2 separate regions of the Homo sapiens genome follow, and region 2 is linked to region 1. Evidence: promoter capture Hi-C in human tissues and cell types (Jung and others, 2019). All regions are on one chromosome and are shown on one strand. Each heading gives the region's core, a stretch centred on a gene start or on the middle of the fragment in contact. The rest is flanking DNA. Distances are from core to core; before and after follow the strand shown. Region 1 has its middle 23 kb from the start of CCZ1B. Region 2 holds the start of ZNF12 (zinc finger protein 12).

The links. The method cuts DNA at HindIII sites, captures the fragments that hold promoters and counts their contacts. A contact is called where the count stands out against the background at its distance.
Region 2: a contact is called between the fragment with the promoter of ZNF12 here and a fragment that was not itself captured in region 1, in 1 of the 25 tissues and cell types used here (neural progenitor cells).

What each region holds. Positions count from the first base shown.
Region 1 is chr7:6,845,785-6,852,125 of GRCh38, reverse strand. No RefSeq gene overlaps it. Among named protein-coding and RNA genes, the nearest start is that of CCZ1B, 23 kb to the right of the region's middle. The HindIII fragment of the contact is 8,245 bases long and covers 481-6,341 here.
Region 2 is chr7:6,704,702-6,711,042 of GRCh38, reverse strand. ZNF12 (zinc finger protein 12) reads left to right here and starts at 4,096. Exons shown (of 5, transcript NM_016265.4): 1 at 4,096-4,611; 2 at 5,820-5,884. The coding sequence starts at 5,870. RefSeq lists an enhancer at 3,928-4,427 and a silencer at 4,121-4,480. The HindIII fragment of the contact is 19,528 bases long and covers 1-6,341 here.

The DNA.
Region 1 (6,341 bases), core at 3,354-5,853:
TGCAACTGCCTGAGGGCAGGGCTGGGTTGAGTGTTGGAAGCCCTTACAAGGCAGGGGGTCAGGGTTACAGTCAAGCATGATGAAGTTGGGGCCACAGAAATGCAACACCTTTAGAGAAAGGGACAGAAACATTTCCACCCAGGGGAACAGAGAGAGGTGAGAAAATTTGAGCTTTAGGTGGTGAACAAGTTTCCCATGAGATCGTTGCGTTTTCAGGCCTCTCTTATATAAATGTGGAACTCCTACAATGAAGTCATGCTACCTGTGTGGTCTAGGAATGCCAGAGTTGAGAAATTAACACTAAAAAGTTGCTTTGGGCCAGGCGTGGTGGCTCACGCCTGTAATCCCAGCACTTCGGGAGGCTGAGGCAGGTGAATCACCTGATGTCAGGAGTTCGAGACCAGCCTGGCCAACATGGTGAAACCCCATCTCCACTAAAAATACAAAAAATTAGCCACGCCTCGTGTGCTTGTAATCCCAGCTACTCGGGAGGCTGAGGCAGGAGAATAGCTTGAACCTGGGAGGCAGAAGTTGCAGTGAGTTGAGATTGCGCCACTGCACTCCAGCCTGGGCAACAAGAGTGAAACTCTGTCTCAAAAAAAAAACAGGTGCCTTCGCTTACTGGTACCCTGGGGCCCCTGGAAAAGCCAAATAGAAAACCTCTCTAGGTGGCTCCCTCAAACCTGGCCACCCAGGATTCCCCACATAAAGCCCCTCTGAAGCTCAGCTCATGATCCAAAATTACAGAACGCAAAGGAAACACATCACCGCGAGAAAAGGCAACAGACATACAAAAGAGCAGGATTCGACACCCGCTCCAAATACCCCCAGCTAGGAGAGAGAAGCTGTCCAACAGGTATGTGAGATAGGCAGCTTCTATAAGGGCTGCCAGCGATCTCCCACCCTTGACTCTTCACAACTTTGTGTAATTTCCATCCCTTGATTGTGGGCTGGACCTAGTGAGTTTCTTTTAACCAACTGAATTCTTATTTTACTTATTTTATTTTATTTTATTTTATTTTATTTTATTTTATTTTATTTTATTTTATTTTACTTAGAGATAGAGTTGCACTGTGTTGTCCATGCTAGGCTGAAACTCCTGGCCTTAAGCAGTCTTCCTGCCTCGGCCTCCCAAAGTGCCAGGATTATAAGCATGAGCCACTGCGCTCGGCAGCCTTCGCATTTATTTATTTTTGAGACTCGCTGTATCGCCCAGGCTGGAGTGCAATGGCACGATCTCGGCTCACTGCAACCTCCACCTCCCGGGTTCAAGCGATTCTCCTGCCTCAGGCTTCCAAGTAGCTGAGATTACAGGCGCCCACCACCAAGCCTGGCTAATTTTTGTATTTTTAGTAGAGACTGGGTTTCACCATATTGGCCAGGCTGGTCTCGAACTCCTGGCCTCAGGTGATCTGCCCGCCTCAGCCTCCCAAAGTGCTGGGAGTACAGGCGTGAGCCACTGAACCTCGCTAACCAACTGAATGCTAAACTGGCCTGAGAGATTCTCACTCCCTGGTGTCCACACCCCGCTAATGCCCTCCTGTGAGTGAATGTGATGGGCTACAGTACTTTTGAGCTAATCAAGTGGGACGCTACCTAATGGACCTGAACCAGTCAGGCAAGTCTTTTAAAAGAAAGGGACATGGCAGAGAGGTGCTCTTCTGCAGGCTTGGAGTAGGGCAAGTGGCCATGGTGCCACCTACAAGGAGGCCCCTGGAAGCCGAGAGTGGTCCCCGATGGCAGCTTGCAAGAAAACAGGGACCTCAGTGCCCCAATGTAGGGAACAGCCCCTCTCCCCCTCGGCTCTTAGGACCCCCATCGCAGGGGGGTGAGGTGCCCACCGCGATGCGGGGAGTAAGGGCCAGCCCCTCTTCCCCCCTCCTGGTTTTTAGGATCCGCGGTGGACTCACAGCCTGTTTACCATATTGTGAGCAATATCATCTCCCCCTCTGGAGATTATGAACTGTTTCAGAGACGGGTGTACACCCTCGGTGTGCAGAGGGTGTACACCCATCTGTATTGGGAGTAATATCATCCTCTTCCTCCCTGAATATTAAGAAGAGTATCACAGGGGTGTTTCCACTCCCTCGGATATCGCGTGTCATATCCTCCTCTCCCACGTTGCAATTAGAAACAATATCAGTGGGGGCGTGTCCACCTTCTGTGATATTGAAAGTAATATCATCCTCTTCCCTCCAGGATCATGGGAACAATATCCCTGGGGGGTGTCCACTTTCTGCCATATATGTAGTCATATCACCCCCTCCGCCTTAGAATATTATGAAGGACCATCTCACATGGGGGTGTATACTTCCTGCGATATTGGGAGTAATATCAACCTCTCGGTCTCCGAATATTAGGAAGAATATCACAGGGTGGGTGTACACCTCCTGCTCTATTATGGGGAGTCATATCTATCTATTATGGGGAGTAATATCATCCTCTCCCTTTCAGGATATTAATAACAATTTCACAGGCTGGGTGAACACAGCCTGCGATGCTGGAATTATTATCACCCTCTCCCCCTCGGGATACTAGGAAGAACATCACAGAAGAGGTGTACACTCCCTGCGATATTGGGAGTAATATCATACGCTTCTTCCGTGAATATTAGGAGCGATATCACCGGGTGGCTGTACATTGATTACTGTGTTGGCAGTCATGTCATACTCTACCCTCTGGGTATTAGGATCGGTGTCACAGGGTGAGTGTACACCTACTGCGATATGAAAACTAATATCATGCTCTCCATCCCTGGATATTAGGAACAATATCACAGGTAGGTGTACACCCCCTGTGGTATTAGCAGTAATAATATTCTGAATTATTAAACATCAGTCTTATTAATAATTATCAATGGTAATATTAATTAACAGTATAACGTTATTAATCATTAATGATTATTTTCAAGATATGATTATGCATGATTAAAATTAATTATTAAGATTAATGTCACTTTTAATATTAGTTATTAATCTTAATATTAATTATTGTTTTATTACCAACATCACTTATGATTGATTGAAGTAACATTAATTAGTGATATCATTATTTTATTATTAATAGTGATATTGCTATTAATTATTAATAGTAACCGTTAATATTTTTCATCTGTACTGTTTTACTGTCTCTACTGTAATTATTAATATTGATGATTACTATTAATTGTTATTATATTTATTAATATTAATAATTAATAGAACTGTTCCCGATATCCGTGGGGGAGAGGATATGACTCCCTATATCGCAGAAAGTGTACACCCCTCTATGATGTTACTCCTAATAGCCGGGGGGTAGAGGATGACATTATTGAAAATAGCGCAGTGGGTGTACATCCCTTCGGTCATCTTGTTCCTAATATCCTGGGTGGGAGCGGATATGACTCCCAATATCGCAGGGGGTGGAGACCTCCACCGAGATACTGTCCCTAACATCCAAAGGTGGAGATGATGATATTTCTTCCAATTTCACCGGGGGTGCACACCATCCTTGTGATATTGATCCTAATATCCAGGCGGCGAGAGGATGCTATTAGTCTGAATATTGCAGAATGTGTACACTCCCTAGGGATATTGTTCCTAATATAAAGGGACGGAGAGGATGATATCACTCCCAATATAGCCGGGGGTGTACACCCCTTGTGTAACATTGCTCCTAAAGGGCAGCGGGGGAGAGGAAGATATTACAGCCAATATCGCAGGGAGTGTACACCCCCTTGTGACATTGTTCCTTCTATCCTGGGAGGGAGAGGAAGATACTAGCGGCAATGTCGCAGGGGCTGTACACACCCACTGTGATATTGTTCCGAATATCCGGAGGGGGAGAAAATGTTGTTACTTCCAATATCGCAGGGGGTGTACATCCTCCTGTGATACTGTTTCTTATATTCATGCGGAGAGGATGACATTACTCCCAATATCGCAGGGGTTGTACCCACCTCCTGCGATACGGGGAGTAAGAGCCAGCCCCTCTCTCCCCCTGGCTCTTAGGAGCCCCTTTGCAGGGGGGTAAGGCCCCACCCTGGGGTACGGGGAGTAAGAGCCAGCCCCTATCACCCCCTGGCTCTTAGGACCCCCATCGCAAGGGGATGAGGCCCCCGCGATGCGGGCAGTCATATCACCCCCCTCTAGATATGATGATTCACGTCGCAGGGGGGCGGGCGCCCCCCGCGATGCGGGGAGTCATATCAGCACCCCCTCTCCCCCCCTGGATATGACGATCCACGGTGGTCACACAGCGTGTTCACGTTATTGTCAGTAATATCTTCTCCACCTCTGGAAATTACCAACTATATCACAGACGGGTGCACATCCTCTGCGCTCTTTGGAGTAATAGCATCCTCTTTCCCCTTGATATTAAGAACAATATCACAGGAGTGTTTTTATCCCTAGGGGCATTCCGTGTAGTATCATCCTCTCCCACGTTGAAATTAGGAACAATATCACCGGAGCGTGTCCACCCCGTGCGATATTGAAAGTAACATCATCCTCTTCTCTCCTGGATCATGGGAACCATATCACTGGGGTTGTGTACACTTTCTGCGGTATTGGGAGTAAGATCATCCTCTCCGCCTTGGAATATTAAGGATCATATCACGGTGGGGCTGTACACACCCTGTGCTATGAAGAAGAGTATTATCCTCCCCTGCCCTGCACATTGGAAAAAATATCACAGAGTGGGTGTACACCTCCTGCGATGAGGGGGTGATATCATCTTCTCTTCTTCTGTATAATAGCAACAATAGTACACGGGCTTGTACACTTTCTGTGATATTGGGAGTAATATCAACCTCTCCACCTTTGAATATTAAGAACAATATCACAGACTGGATGTACACCCCCTGCGATATTGGGAGTCATATCAGCCTCTCCTTTCCGTGGATATTAGGAATAATATCCCAGGATGGGTGTACACCTCCTGCTGTATGGGGAGTCATATCGTCCTCTCACTTCCTGGCTGCTAGGAACAATATCAGAGGGTGGGTGCACACAGCCTGCGATATTGCGAGTAATATCACCCTCTCCCCCTCCGGATATTAGGAACAATGTCACAGAAGGGGTGTACACTTCCTGAGATACTGGGAGTAATAGCATTCTCTTCTTCCGGGAATATTAGGAGGAATATCACCGGGTGGATGCACACCCACTGCTATCTTGGGAGTAACGTCATACGCCACCCCCTGGAGATGATATTCGGATCAATATCACCGGGTGGGTGTACACCTACTGCGATATTGAACGTCATATCATGCTCTCTCCCTCCCTGGACATTAGGAACAACATCACAGGTGGGTGTACACCCACTGAGGTATTAGGGATAATATTCATATTAATTCTTCCTCTTTTATTAACATGAATATGTATTACCAATATTAATATTAATATTAAGAAATCATTGTTAAAAATAGTGTTCAGATTATTAATATTAATGTTAATTATTAGGAGCTAATATGACAGTTTTCTAATGAATAAGATCAATATCACTCTTTAAGACCATGCATCATTAATCATTAATATTCATTTATTGTTATCGTGAGTATAACTCTTTAATACGAATTATCATTATCGGTATTGATTTTCAGAATTATATGATCAGTTATTAATATTGATAATTATCAGTATCAATTAATAATTAAGATTATTAATTGCGGTAAGTAACATTGCGCCATTCCACCCCTCCCTCGGCAGCTCTTTTACGACCCAAAACGGGGATCCAAATGCCCCTGAGAGAGCAGCGGCATACTGGGAGAGAGGAGGATGGTCACGTGGTGGAGAGGCGTGTTTTTGTGTACCAGCCCTTCACCTCTGCCGACCTTCTCAACTGGGAAAACAATACCCCGTCCTAGAGCGAAAAGCCACAAGCCCTAATTGATTTCCTCCAAACGGTTATCCAGACCCACAACCCCACCTGGGCCGATCGCCACCGGTTGCTCATGTTCCTCTTTAAGAGAGATGAAAGGCAAAAGGCGGAGAGGGCTTCACGCAGCAACTAAGTGGCTAGAGGAACATGCACCAGCTGATTATCAAAACCCCCAAGAGTATGGAAGCACCCAGTTACCAGGAACCCACCCCCAGTTGGACCCACATGAAAGAGAGGAGATGCAAAGGCTAAACCGAGACAGGGAAGCTCTCTTGGAAGGATTCAAGAGGGGAGCTCAGAGGGCCACAAACGTTAACAAGGTCTCTGAGGTCATTCAGGGAAAAGTAGAAAGTCCAGCGCAATTCTACCAGAGACTGTGTGAGGCCTATGGTATGTATACTCCCCTTGATCACGATAACCCTGAAAATCAGCGCATGATTCACATGGCTTTAGTCCATCAAAGCGCGGAAGACGTTAGAAGA
Region 2 (6,341 bases), core at 2,847-5,346, 140 kb after region 1:
GCCTCAGCCTCCCGATTAGCTGGGACTACAGCACATGCCACCATGCCTGGCTAATTTTTGTATTTTTAGTAGAGATGGGACTTCACCATGTTGGCCAGGCTGGTCTCCAACTCCTGAGCTCAGGTGACCCGCCTGCCTCGGCCTCCCTTTTGCTAAGATTACAGGCATGAGCCACAGTGCCTGGCCAACCACTGAGATTTAGAAAGCAGTCGAGTCCACTATACCGCACCTCACCTGGTTTCTTCCTCTGTTGGGGCCCCTCGTGGCCACTGTTCTCCTGGTACTTTTCAGTCCTGTTTATTTAAATTGATGGTGAGCTGTTTGTCCTCCCGGCTCCAACACTTCCACCTTCAGCTTGTATTACCACAACAATACCAGCCCTTCAAGCAATTCTGGGTGACCCCAAAACTCATTTGAACTCAGCAGCCCAAGAGTTTCATTCCTCTAACTTTAGGGGACTCAGTGCCTCTGGTCAGCATGAAGTAGATACAGAAGCATGACCTCCATCCCTAATCCCTCAAGAATGAGGAGTGGAAGGTGTCGGCAGGAGGGTGGGGACACGGTTTGTAAATCTGGAACTGCATCAGACTAAATCTAGTTCAAGTTTTTTTTTTTTTTTGACGGAGTTTTGCTCTTGTCACCCAGGTTGCAGTTTAATGGCGCGATCTCGGTTCACTGGAACCTCCGCCTCCTGGGTTCAAGAGATTCTCCTGCCTCAGCGCATCACCACCCCTGGATAATTTTTGTATTTTTAGTAGAGGCGGGGTTTCACCATATTGGCCAGGCTGGGCTGGAACTCCTGACCTCGTGATCTGCCTGCCTCAGCTTCCCAAAGTGCTGGGATTACAGGTGTGAGCCACCACACTCCACGTCCATTTCAACTTTTATGTAATGTAGTTGGCAGTTGTTTTTCAACTGCCATGGATCCGTGGGTTGAAGGTCATATACTCTGAGCATGCCCAGATTAACCAAGCATGCAACCACGAAGTGGAACCTAAGTGCTCGGACTGAGGAGCTGGGACCCATTTAAGAACCGGACACCCTGTGGCAGGAGCCAGGAACCAATGAGATTGAGTTTTGGTGTCACTCCATGGCAGGATCCAGTCAGATCACACCTCCCAGCATTAATTACTTCATCTCAAGATCCAATCAAATCACATCTCCTTACCCTATGCGTACAAAACCTGACATAGCCCCCAGCTGGGAAAGGGAGATTTGAGCATTTCCTCCTGTGTCCTTGCTAGTTGACTTACAAAAAGGCTTTATTTCTCAAAAGCTGGAGCCATGGTATTGGCCTCTGTACACACTGGGCAGCGAGTGCATTGACTGCTCGGTAACATATATGTGGACTACATGCGGACTCGCATTTCCAAAACATTTGATTTGGTTTCAGTAAAAAATACCTTTCTAGCACATTAAAGCAACAGAAGTTCAATTTCTCTTTTTTTCTAAGAATTTGGGCAAATTCAATTTATATAAGTACATACACACCTCTACAAGCCAATCAGAACAGCAAACCTTTAAAGACTCTATATTGTGGCTCATGCCTGTAATCCCAGCACTTTGGGAGGCTGAGGTGATCAGATCGCTTGAGCCCAGAAGTTCGAGACCATCCTGGGCAACATGGCAAAACCCCATCTCTATAGAGAATACGAAAATTAGTTGGGTATGGTGGTACACACCTGCAGTCCCAGCTAATTGGGAGGCTGAGGTGGGAGGAACACCTGAGCCCAGGTAGGTTGAAGCTGCAGTGATCCGTGATCGCACACACTGCACTTCAGCCTGGACGACAGAGTGAGACCCTGTCTCAAAAACAAACAAACAAACTCTATATCTACTATAATACCATTCAGAGGTGGAAAAACATTAGACACTCACACAATCAGAGGTAAAGACCTTTCTAAATTACAGACACACAGACATACAAAGAAATAGAGCTTACAGCTTCAATTCTAAAATTTCAGACATGGGTCAAGAGTAAACACAAAAATGCAAAAACTCACCCTTCCAGATATGAAAGAGCTCTTCTCCTCCCAGTGGGCATGAAATTCTTAATTGATTTCAGCTCAAAATAGACAGAGAAATAGAATAACAAATCAGACTCTGATGTCTCTCACCCAACAGAGATTAGGTCTTTGCAAACATTAATCTCATTACAGAGATCACCATGTGATCAGACCATAAAACCAAATTCCTAGCCCAGCGCGGTGCTTCACGCCTGTAATCCCACCACTTTGGGAAGCTGAGGCGAGTCTACCACCTGAGGTCAGGAGTTCGAGACCAGTCTGGCCAACATGGAAAAACCCCGTCTCTACTAAAAATACAAAAATTAGTCGGGCATGGTGGCATGCACCTATAGTCCCAGCTACTCAGGAGGTTGAGGCAGGAGAATCACTTGAACTTGGGAGGCAGAAGTTGCAGTGAGCCGAGATCGTACCCCTGCACTCCAGCCTGGGCGGCAGAGTGAGACTTTGCCTTGAAACAACAAAAACAAACAAAGTCCCAATCAGTGATGCTAGCAATGTAAACAAATGCAAACCAAAGTAAAACACAGGATTGGTAAATGGGGAAATTACTGAAAAATGAGAAGCCAGCAAATTTCTACTGGCACTTTGGACTCATTCCTGGGAGCCAAGAAAAGATTCACCTGGGCTTCAACAGTTCATGAGGCACTCCAGTCCTGAGGTTTTCCTGGCTCAGTCATGTGATTCCATCAGGGACTTCTGCAAAGACCTGGAAAACCTTAAAACATAAAAGTAAAATCATGACTCTGATACAGATATAAAAATGAGCACATGCTAAAGATTTTATTTAATTCAAGAGGAAACAGGCAGATATTATAACTGGTTCAAAAGAGAATCTGAGGGCTGGACATGGTGGCTCATGCCTGTAATCCCAGCACTTTGGGAGGCTGAGGCGGGTGGATCACTTGAGGTCAGGAGTTTAAGACCAGCCTGGCCAACATGGTGAAACCCCCATCTCTACTAAAAATTCAAAAATTAGTCGGGCTTGGTGGTGTGCACCTGTAATCCCAGTTACTTGGGAGGCTGAGGCAGGAGAATTCCTTGAACCAGTGAGCCAAGATCTCGCCACTGAACTCCAGCATGCACAGCAGAGTGAGACCCTGTCTCAAAATTAAAAAAAAAAAGAGAGAGAGAGAGAGAATCTGAGAAACAGACATATTTTCAGATCAGGAATATTGAAATGATTATGTAAATGGAGAAATGCAGTCAAAACTGCATTTTCTCTAGTGGGGATTGTGGGAAGTCAACCAACTTCCACCAGACAGAACATAACTTGCATCGATTACCTACAGTTTTCAAAGAGGTGTAAAATACCTCAAAGATAAGGAACAGGGTTGGAATCAAGTAACATGGCTTTCTAAATGTGCTTCGTTTTCCATTAAGACGCAAATTTCTTCTTCTGCTTGCCTCATCCTCTTCAGGAAGTAGAGTTCTGGCTAATTTTTTTCTTCTTTCAATTCTGTACATATTCTCTGAGTTTTCTAGCTATCACTAATTCAAAGTGATTTGGAAAAGCTGGAATTCTTTTTCTCCTTGTTGGGGCGAGGATGGTATCCTGTCCCAGGCTAATCCTCTATTATTTCATCCATGGGCTCTATTTACTGAAGTTTTCGTTAAATGTGTCATTGTGATCATAAGCTAGCATGATGCACCCTCTTGTTCCATTTGTCACGGTTGCACATGGACATTGATTTTAAGCCTTGAGCTCTCCGGTAAGGCAGGACTGGCCCAGGCATGGTCTACGAGATGCTACAGGAAGCAGAGACTTTCTAGACGTTCCCTTAAAGATAGTCAAGACATCCCCATGAAGACGTTCCCTTAAACTAAGGAGAAATTTGAGTCTGGGGTTCGGCGTTGCCAATTCTCTTAGCATAGAGCCTCTTAACCGCTAGACCAGATAGAGACATTTCAAATGGCTCCTAAATTTGGGGAGCGCGTAGGCTCATGGGAAATAGAGTCACGGTATTTGTCCTGGGACCGGCGGCGGGTCCCGGGAGGCGGACTTCCGGTGCATTCCTGCGCATGTGCACCCCTCTCTGTGTGCGTGTTCGCGCATGCGCGCCGCGGCCGCAGTGCCCTCGCTTCCTGTGCGTCCCCAGGTCACCGCTCGCCCTAGTTCCCAGGCTTTGGCCTCCGGTGGGCGAGAATCGCGGAGCCTGCGGGGCTGGGCGCCGAAGAGCCGGGCCGGCACCCAAGCGGGCGCGGGGCTGTGCGGGCCAGGCGGAGGCTCAAGCGGGGATCCCCGAGCACGACCCCCGGAGCCGACGGCGCTGGGGCCCAAGGGGCCGGCCGGGCGGTGACGACGGCGGAGGCGAAGGGGCGGCGGGACCCGGGCCCGGCCCGTGTGCGTCCTCGACGGCCCGGCCCCGGCTCCGCAGGACGGTGAGCCCCAGGGAGACGGATCTGGGCTCCGGGAGGGACGCCCCGCCTGGATTTGTCCCGTAGGCCCGGCCCGGGCCCCTCTGGAGCAGAACGGCCTTGGTGAGGTGGACAGGAAGGGACCTCGCGAGCAGACGCGCGCCCGCGACAGCAATCCCGCCCCGGCCTGTCGGGAGCGGTGGGGCAGAGGCTGCGGAGCCCCAGGAGGGTAAGTCGTGGGTTTGCGGGCCCGGGGCGAGAAGGGCCTGGGTGAAGTCACCGCGTGTAGGGCACCTTAGAGTGAGGGACAGTGGAAGGTCTCGATCGCTTGCAGGAGTGACGTGTGTTTGGGTTTGAAGGCAGGGTCCGGCGAGGACGAGGCTTACGGGGGCGTGGGGGGTGTCACCAGCCTCAGCTGCGGACGTTGTCTCCACTCCCCCCTCACCCCAGCAGCCCTTCCTCCTCTCTCTGCTCCAGATTGCTACCGTATCTAAACGTCCGTCAGCACCTCTGTTCTCTCATTTAAGTGCTGATTCCCCCTTAGGTCTGCTCTTGTGGAATCATACGTTGTAGTGCAGGAACAGCCTGCAGGAACTATCTCTTGCTGCCTCATTTGCTAGGGGAAGGGCCTTAGCAGGTGGGTGACTTGTCCGAGGTTTTGTGGGTGGAGTTGCTCATAGTAGAACTCTGGAGTTTTATCTCCCAGGCCAGTGTTCTGTCCCCCGTATCCTAGTTAAGTGAGCGTAAGTTCTTCAATAAAAGATCCTTTTGAGTAGCACACTGAAGTTTCTGCAAATAAAGACTCAATTATGCCGACTGTATTCCTTTATTTAGGGCATCCTGTGGATTTTCTGATCTTTATTTAAAAGAGTAAGAAAATAGATGAGTATTACAGAATTCATTTTTTGTTGTTTGTTTTTTGTTTGTTTGTTTGTTTGTTTTTGAGACAAGTTTCGCTTTGTTGCCCAGGCTGGAGTGCAATGGTGCCATCCCAGCTCACTGCAACCTCCGCCTCCCGGGTTCAAGCGATTCTCCTGCCTCAGCCTCCCGAGTAGCTGGGGTTACAGGCGCCCGCCACCACGCCCAGCTAATTTTTGTATTTTTACTAGACATGGGGTTTCACCATGTTGGCCAGGCTGGTCACCAGAATTCCTTTTTAAATCTTGCATTTAATGATGGCAGATTATTTCAGTAGGATCCAGTATTCATTCACCATGAGAATCTCATCCACTCAGTCACAAGGTAGCCATGTGTGAGTTTCAAATGTGCAGATCGGTCCCCCTCCTGATCATTTTCCAATCCCTTCTGAAGGCTTAAAGGGACAGTCTCCCACAAGATGTACTTCTTGGAACTTTCTGTGTAGGTTTTGGGCGGGAGATGACCGCCTTGGCAGGCCAGACCGCTCATAACGCCATGGCTTGGGTTTTCCTTCCCCAGATCTGCCTCCGCTTTCACAGTCCTCCAGATTTTTCCAAGAGCAGCAGAAAATGAATAAATCCCTGGTGAGTGTTTCTGTTCATGTATTTATTCTCTACTCTGATTTACAATACACCTTAGGAGGAGATTAAGGGTTCAAAGTTTAAAATGGGAAAGTAGAAATAGATACAAGATTTGGTCAGACAGAACAGTAGCCATCAGCACCAAGCCTTTTTATCATATTCATATGCGCAGATAGCGTGATCCTTAAAGAGTTCTTGAAGTCAGAGTACAAGCGTCTTATGTTCTTGGCATTTATCACAAAAAATGATAAATACCATCCATTCCTTGACTTACATTGACCGTAAGCAGAATCACTTTTGTTTTTGCATGAATTTTAAAGATTCCTCTGAGATCATTATCAACAGCTTTCCTAAATAATAACCCTTGAACCATTGCAATTCTTGCCTTTCTTTTTTTTTTTTTTTTTTTTTTTTTTTTTTTGAGACCAAGTATTGCGCTCTGTCACCAGGCTGGAGTGCA